2 separate regions of the Homo sapiens genome follow, and region 2 is linked to region 1. Evidence: promoter capture Hi-C in 16 types of primary human blood cells and fetal thymus (Javierre and others, 2016). All regions are on one chromosome and are shown on one strand. The core of a region is centred on a gene start or on the middle of the fragment in contact, and the rest is flanking DNA. Distances in the headings are between cores, read along the strand shown.

The links. The method cuts DNA at HindIII sites, captures the fragments that hold promoters and counts their contacts. A CHiCAGO score of 5 or more calls a contact.
Region 2: a fragment that was not itself captured here is called in contact with the fragment with the promoter of SLC9A9-AS1 in region 1 in 8 of 17 cell types (M2 macrophages, endothelial precursors, naive B cells and 5 more); the score reaches 9.3 in M2 macrophages.

Annotation. Positions count from the first base shown.
Region 1 is chr3:143,340,361-143,344,493 of GRCh38, reverse strand. SLC9A9-AS1 (SLC9A9 antisense RNA 1) reads right to left here and starts at 2,248. Exons shown (of 4, transcript NR_048544.1): 1 at 2,210-2,248; 2 at 880-1,144; 3 at 1-27. All of the region lies in intron 14 of SLC9A9 (solute carrier family 9 member A9), which reads left to right. The HindIII fragment of the contact is 6,948 bases long and covers 296-4,133 here.
Region 2 is chr3:143,596,622-143,600,754 of GRCh38, reverse strand. All of the region lies in intron 6 of SLC9A9 (solute carrier family 9 member A9), which reads left to right. Among named protein-coding and RNA genes, the nearest start is that of SLC9A9, 250 kb to the left of the region's middle. The HindIII fragment of the contact is 1,918 bases long and covers 1,099-3,016 here.

The DNA.
Region 1 (4,133 bases), core at 999-3,498:
GATTTTTTAAGAGATCTGTAACTTGGCCTGTAAAAGAGGTGTCTCTTAATATATTAGAAAATATTATCTTTAGTTCAAAGCAGAGAGTAATACAGAGTTGGAATGAATATTTTGCCCTATTCTCTTTTAGTCTTGACTGCTTATACACTAGCAAAGAGAAATATATTCCTCTGCAAAGCCTCCTGAGAATACAGAGATATATGCATCAGGATATTGAATTGTTTGAGAAAATAAGAGCTGGATTTTTGCAAATAAACTCTTGCACCCATATGAAAGCTCGGTAGTCATAGAAGCTTTCCCAAATAATATGCCTTCCTCTGCCAATACACAAAGTAACCTTTGTCAGTTAATAATGAGCTAATTGTTAACCTGAACAACAGATGACATCAGAGAAAACTGGCATAAATTATTCCAAAATGAACTGTAAGTGAATCTGTCCACTTAATGAATCTAATTTACATGATTCTTCTCCCTGCTGTTTCCTTTGTAAATAATATTTTATTTAAATAATTGCCAGCCCAAAAGATAGAATCATAATTATTCTGGGAGTTACATGGATTTGATAGGTAAACCACTATTTCAGCCATAACTTGCAAGCTGGTTAGACCATTGATCACTATACCTGGGTGTTAGTTTAGATAGAATATTGCTGAGGTAGTCAGCTCAGTACATTGTTGAGGTCTCAAGAGCACAAAGACTCCTTGTTGGGAAACTCCTGAGACCTAGAACCATGTTTCCAAGGCAGCAGTACTAGGTAAATATTCTAGGTGTATATTCTCTGTCATTTTTAATGTATGAATAGCAGACTAAAAGTGCTGCTTTTTATACCTAACCAGGAATCATCTTTGACACCATCTGAAGAATCAGTGGTAGACTCACCATCTTCAGAGTCCTTCAGCTTCCACTAGACCATTTAATTCATTTTGAGGGGACAAAATAGGGACTCCTGCAGTTTTCTCTCTGTAGTATTTTCTTGCTGAATCCAAGACCACATTAGGAAACCATGCCGTTGATTTTTTCGACTACTGCTTGTGGCAGTTCTTGCCTAGCTGTTGAAAGTTACTTTTTTTCCCCTCTTTACATCTTGGTAGAACATCTTATTCTGAAAATTGACTATCTCTCATCCTCCATTCCCACGCTTTGCCTAGAAAATGAAAAGATGTTTAAAAGAATGCCCTCCTGTTCTTGCCACTACAAAAAAATCAAAACATTTCCTGTCATACACTCACACACAATTAGTCTCCTTAACAATAAAGAGGAAAAGAAGTGGGAAAAAAATATCCATGACCTCTGTTGGTATTAAGTCTATAGGATACACTCAGCAGAGTCAAACCATCTAGCACAATCAAAACCATTATCTCCTCCTCTGGGTGTCTAAACTGCCCATATCAGTCATTTCAGTGAATAAAGAAATAAACAAACACTAGAAAATAGGATAGTTGTAGATTTGAGAAACAGTAAAAGTGTGGTGCTATGTATAGCAATGATATCACTTGTATTATTACAGTCATTTTTATATTACTAGCATTTGGGGATTATATCATCTAGCATTTGAGGTTGTTTTGACAATTTGTTCACATATAGATAAGAAAGAAGGAATGATCTTTTCAAAGAGAGATGCATGGTTAAAAGCGTGGCGCGTGTATATTTGCATGCACATGCACCTGCACCTGAGGTTGAACATGCACCAGATACACCATACCCCACCTGAGTGATTAAATAGATCACTCAATAGGAATTTTTCAGGTCATTTTCAGTTTTCTCAGTCTTTTGAAATAAGGTGATATTTTATGGTGCCCACAGTGGTTTGTGTCTACAAGCATTGCCTAATTTTAAAACCTTAAGTTAATCTTGACAAATCTGGCTATTGGAAGCTGTTTGGCCTTGAAGGTTATTTTATTTGTGAGTCCTGCTCTAGTTGCTACATAGATGGTGGCATTGGGTGGGGTGTTTAAAATCTAAGATAGTCCAATAAATAAACTGAAATACATCAGCAATAAGGTTTATAAGTGACCTCATGAGGAATCATCTAGCTTCTTAGATCAGGGTCTGCTGGTCATAAGGGTGGATCACTTGAGGTCAGCAGTTCAAGATCAGCCTGGCCAATATGGCAAAACCCTGTCTCTACTAAAAATACAAAAATTAGCTCGGTATGGTAGCACATGCCTTGTAATCCTAGCTACTTAGAAGGCTGAGGTAGGAGAATCACCTGAATCCAGGAAGCAGAGGTTGTAGTGAGCCAAGATGGTGCCACTGCACTCCAGCCTGGGTGACAGAGTTAGACACTGTCTCAAAAAAAAATAAGAAGCTCTAATGTTTGTTTCATTGAGAGATCCCTTCCTAAGGGACCCAACAAGCAGCTTCAATGATGGTCAGTAAAGTATGAACCTTATAACCATAGTTTCCACGTTTCCACCTTTGCCTCCTACTGAGGCGGCAGCAGAGCTGGGTCCTGACTGTGATGCGGTATTCCCATAACACAGCTCCACATCCAGAGGTAGTTTCACCCGGAATCAATGAAACTCAGCTTTCAGGGCTCTTCATCTGCATGGGTCCTTTGTAAGGGACCAGTGTTGATATTCAAAAGTGTGCATTCTTTTTATTAAGAATAGCCTCCAAAATTAGGTAACCTTCAGACTTCATGAAATCTGGATCTATCCCCGTCCATGTGAGTAAACACTACAGGGAAAATATGATAAATTAACGGTCTTATCATAATATTAAGTATTACAATAAATTATATGATTGTAAAAAATTTCAGTCCCTAGCACCTATATAACACTGTGTTCTGTATTTGCATATCGGAGTCATTTTGGTAAACAAAATTTTAATTTATTTGAACAGGGTTCGGGAAATCCTCAGGAAGTTTAACTTGCAATTTGGTATCTGAAGCTAATGTTATTCCTCTCCACATTTCTCCTCAAACATTTGGCACAGCTTTTCCTACCGTGGCAAGCAACTTGTCCCATTCTGAAAAGTGTGTTAAATTCACAGATACCCAATAATGATTATTGCAGGGTGTTCTCCAACACGTTTCATCCCTTGGTCTAAATTTACATTGTATGACTATGACCTGGGATGACTCTCTTGCCCTCCCTTGTAACTCAATACAGTTATGAATGGATGATTATTTTTATAAAATCCTACTCTGGAGTTCCCAAATTGACAGGCATTGGAGGCTCCCAAACCGACCCCATCTCAGGTATATATTCTCAAGACCAAAAGTTTATGAAAGCTAAGCCCCCTTAAGCCCCCACTACTCCAAAGGAACTGCAAAACAGCACATGAACAGTGAAAAAGATCCTAAAGAAATTCACCTCCCGATCACACCAAATTAATGCTATCCTGAGATACATCCAGCGAAAGGAATTCATCATATTCCACATAAGTGCCAAAAGACATTTGGACAGACTTTCAGCCTAAAGGATAGTGAGAGGGATAGTCTTAAAAATTTTAAAGATTTCTTTAGAACTTTCTTAGAATTAAGTGTCCTATTCAGCTTAATTGTTCTGCTACCAGCAAAAGTGATAAAGTTCAGGTGATCCTAAATGCAGAAAATATGTGGAAGTGAATAAAGCCTTCTGCACTAATGACTAGCAAATTTCAATAGATTTCCAATCTCTCTTTTTCACATTTCTTGTACCAACTCATTTATATTGTCATTCTAGAAAGAGCACATAAAAGGGTGTCTGGAGATAGATTTCTGGATGTTAAGAGAATCTTTAGTGAGTGGAGATAAGACCTGACCAGGAGACCTTTTATGAGTATATTCAGAAATGTAAACTGATGAATATGGTAAGGGCAAAAACTCAATATGATTGCATCTAAGATAGGATAAGGAGTTAATGCCCCTTTCCAAGAGAAATCTTGAAGACGGTACCAAAGTGAGCCCCAGGAAAGATCTGAACTGAAACCTCTCTAAGAGTCTCTTCAAAGCCTCCACTAGCTATAGAGTGGTTGCAATGGAGAATGATCTTGTTTTCCATTAAGAAATTCCAACTACTCATTAGTACCTGTTTTATTTTTCCCACTATAGCCTCCAGGCCTACCACTGTGCCTGGCACAAAGCAGGTGTTCTAATAAATGTCTAGTTAATGTTGAATCAGCAGGTAATCAAAATAGTCCTTCAGTTA
Region 2 (4,133 bases), core at 808-3,307, 260 kb before region 1:
ATTTCATTATTTTAGCTCCTCATGATAGCTATGAAATAATTTCCTAATTCTTTCCTTAGCCATGGTTGCTGACCAACATAGACATTTTCATGCTGATCAACCTCTCTGATTTATTGCGTTTTGGGAGGGTGATCTCAATTCTATGTAGGGAATAAGAATGTCACCAATCTCTGCAGATCATTGATATTTAGAAATAGTAGAGTTATTAGCTTTAAAGCTCAACTTACCCATGTGTTAATATTAAAATCTGATAAATTAATGAGTTCTACTTGTTGTATTTTTCACACACTTATAGAATTCTTGTCCATCCAGGGGAATTTCTTTCAGTTCTTGCTTCTCTTTAAGATAGCAAAACATCCTTTCTTATGGCTGTATAGTATTCCATGGTGTATATGTGCCACATTTTCTTTATCTAATCTATCGTTGATGGGAAACCATCATTCTCAATAAACTAACACAGGAACGGAAAACCAAACACCGCATGTTCTCACTCATAGGTGGGAGTTGAACAAAGAGAACACATGGATACAGGGAGGGGAACATCACACACCGGGGCCTGTTGAGGGGTTGGAGGCTAGGGGAGGAATAGCATTTGGAGAAATACCTAATGTAGATGATGGGTTGATGGGTGCAGCAAACCACCATGTCACATGTATGCCTATGTAACAAACCTGCACATTCTGCACATATATCCCAGAACTTAAAGTATAATTATAAAAAAAATTTTTTAATTAAAAAAAAAAGGTAGCAAAACATCTGGAAGCAGTACCGGGCTGGTAGGTAAAACGCCAGAGAACAATAATCGGGACAGTGACTGTTTAGTTGCTTTATGTTGGACAAGTGCATTCTCCAGAATTTTTTGTTTTGATTTGGTTTCTGGGATTTTTCTTAAATGGAAAGAGGCATTGATATCTTACTTCGATGATAAGACAGATGAAATATTCTGAGACCCTTTGATTTCTTACAGGTCTTGAGGGACGCATAAGATTTTTGTTTGTTGTAATTATTTGAAGTTCATTACATATTTTGTTTATGTATGACATTTTAATATTTAAGGATGCCTTGAAGGAATTTGGATTCCTTATTGCTCATAAAGCTTGTCGGTGGTCAGCCAGTAGCGCCATTTGCATCTCAATAGTGCAAAGGAGAGAAATGATATTTTGCAGGATCTTGGAGAGTATCCCTGGCAAGGTAGAATCAAACACAGGCAATTGTTGTGCTCATAAAGCCCCACGGCTTCTGTGGATTATGTGTAGGTCACATCTCAACTACAATTAATAGCAACCACCACCACTAAGATTGCTGACTACTCAGATGTTAAGCACAGCCGTATTTCTTTGCAAACAGAGGCTCTCCTTATAGAAGAAAAGAACTACTTATGCTTTCCAGGAAAAGTCCTTTTATTATTAGATTCCTGAGCATTTGGCGTTTTATACTGTTTATAATTCAATGCTCTTAGTAACAACAAAATAGCTGTAACTGATTGGCAAAATATAAAGAAATTCAGAAACATAATTATGTTTTTTACGAGTTAAATAGTTATATGAGATGGAGGACTATGGACAGGAAATATAATTTCTTTTAAAATCCTTTCCCCATGAGGCACACGGTAGGCTTTCTTCACCTAACTATTCTTCTGCCACAGTCCCATCTGGTGCACTGCACCTATGTGACAGAAGAAATAGCTCTCCAGGTCAGTGAGGGGGTAACTCATTTGAATCTTGTTTAGAATGAGGGATTGAGGCGACCTGTGGGTTCTACTTACATAATTTTCAGCATCTGGCTTGGCTAGCAAATCAATGGCCTCAAAACAAAAATAGAAACAAACAAAAGATTCCTGTTCCCTGAGAAAGATAATACCATTGTTCAGGAAATGGTGAGCTTGACAGGTATCTTTTTGTCCTTATTGGTGCCTACCAGACCACACACAGAGAAAACCAAACTCCCTCCATATTAAAGGACAAGGGCAGCAGCAGGCAGCACGCTTCCTCTAACTGGAAAGTGGAGAATGATTTTAAAAACTTGTGTTGACTTGCTTGCTTGCAGCATTTTAATAACATGTAGGTAGGAGGCCACGGGACTTCAGAAAAACAAGTACTGAGCCCCATCAGCAGTGCTTGTTCTTGTAATGTTCCGGGGTAGCATGTGCGGATTTGGAGGAAGACGGTGTCTTTTTCAAAGGAGGCTATTGGAGGAAGTTATAATCACAGTGTAAATAGTGATTCACTGGTACAAAGAATCTGCCTGAGAAAACTGGGTAGAAATTGAACGCTCACTAGCGCCACTAATTTACCCTCCATTAGTGTCCTGAGCTTCAAGTGAAAGCAGGAGGCTCCTCTCAAGGCACAGCTACAGCCCCATCCTTTGGCTCTACCTGGACTTTTAGACACATCTCCTTAATTCTGGAAAAAGACAGGAGTGCCATTACATCTGGGCTTATTTCGTGATGCTTCATGGAAACAGCTGCGTTGCCTGTCTTTGTATGGATACAGTTTTTAAAAATGAAAATCGCCATGGCAACAGCTGCAGCTACTTATTACAGAGCAGTGGAAATGACGCTGGTATCGGTAGGGAAAGCTATGCTCTCAGAATAATGTGTCCCTTATACTGGATTTTACCCACTAACATTTTCATTTAAAAAAAAAAAGATAAAAGTTGAGAATGTGTTCAAAAGCAATTTACCAGGGACTGGAGAGCTCAGGGAATTGGTAAGTGGGTACAGAACCTTTTGTCTGCAGGCCCCGAATTGAGCTGTTGACAACAGCTCTCGATACTGCGATTCTAGGGAAGGCAGCGCCCACTGCTTATGTTTAACCCCACAGTGCCGAATATGCCACTCTACACAGAGTTGCATAATGGCGTTGACAGTGATGATTAGAATGTTAATTGAAGCCAGTTTTCTGCACCTTTTAGCGCCATACCTTCCTTACAGCTTTGATAAATCTCTACATTTGAGACTATAGGAACCACTTGGCTCCTGCCTGCCAGTAAGTGTAAAATAGTTTAAAAGTAAGCTTTAATTTCCTCTTAACTCTATTCTGAGATTAACAACATCTTTCATGGCTGTCAGATCCTGGGGTCCAGGTCCACACCATGCTGAAGTCCGAGGGGAGTGGGTGGATGAGCAGAAAGAACCCTCGGGGGGCCACAGGCGGGTGAATATGGTTTTATTCAGCAGCAGCTCTCATCAACAGCTTTCTTAAACTACCTCTCTCCTGAGCAGCTTTTCTTACGCTGTCCGCTCTGTCTCAGCTGCTTGAATTGGCCACCCCCACGCAAGGTTGCGAGGCCAGTTCTCCCTTGCCTTCAGGGTCAACAGCTTAACTTTCTCTCTTTGAGCACAAACAAGCCTGAGCTGTGTTTTGGCCCCCTCCTGTCTGTCTGCAAGAAGGACAGCTTTGGCTCTCTCTTTCTCTGGACGCCAGCGTGCCCACCATGTCAAGCCGTGTTGAGCCGAGCCGAGCCCCCCAAGAGCTAAGCCCCGTGCACAGAGTCAGCAGGACAGTTATACCTTTTACAGACAATAGTGGCTCCAAGCCAAGCATGAACTTACACGAACAGGCTATATAATAAGTGGAGGTGTGTGCCTGCGCACCAAACTTGCTGACTCATACTCGCCTGGATATCCGCCTCGGCCTTTTCCTTAACCAAAGCACATCCATGTATCTTACAATGGCTCATGCTATATGTTCTGGCACTTTCTTTTTACTGAACATGAAGAAGGTAAGTGAAGAGGAACATAGAAGAAAAAAAAAGATTTACCGTGACATATGTTTAAGACCTCATACAAGGTCTGGGTGTGTGGTGGCTCATACCTGTAATCCCAGCACTTTGGGAGACCAAGGCAGGAGGACTGCTTGAGCCGAGGGGTTCAAGACCAGCCTGGGCAACAAAGTGAGACCTCAATCTCTACAAAAAATAAAACTTAGCTAGGTGTGGTGATGCACACCTATGATCCCAACTACATGGGAGGATGAGGCAGGAGGATTACTTGAGCCCAGGAGGTCGAGGCTATAGTTAGCCATATTCATGCCACTGTACTCCAGCTTGGGTGACACAGCAAGATCCTGTCTTTAAAAAAAAGAAAAAGAAAAAGACTTCATACATTGTAGGGAGAAACCCTGCATTTTGAG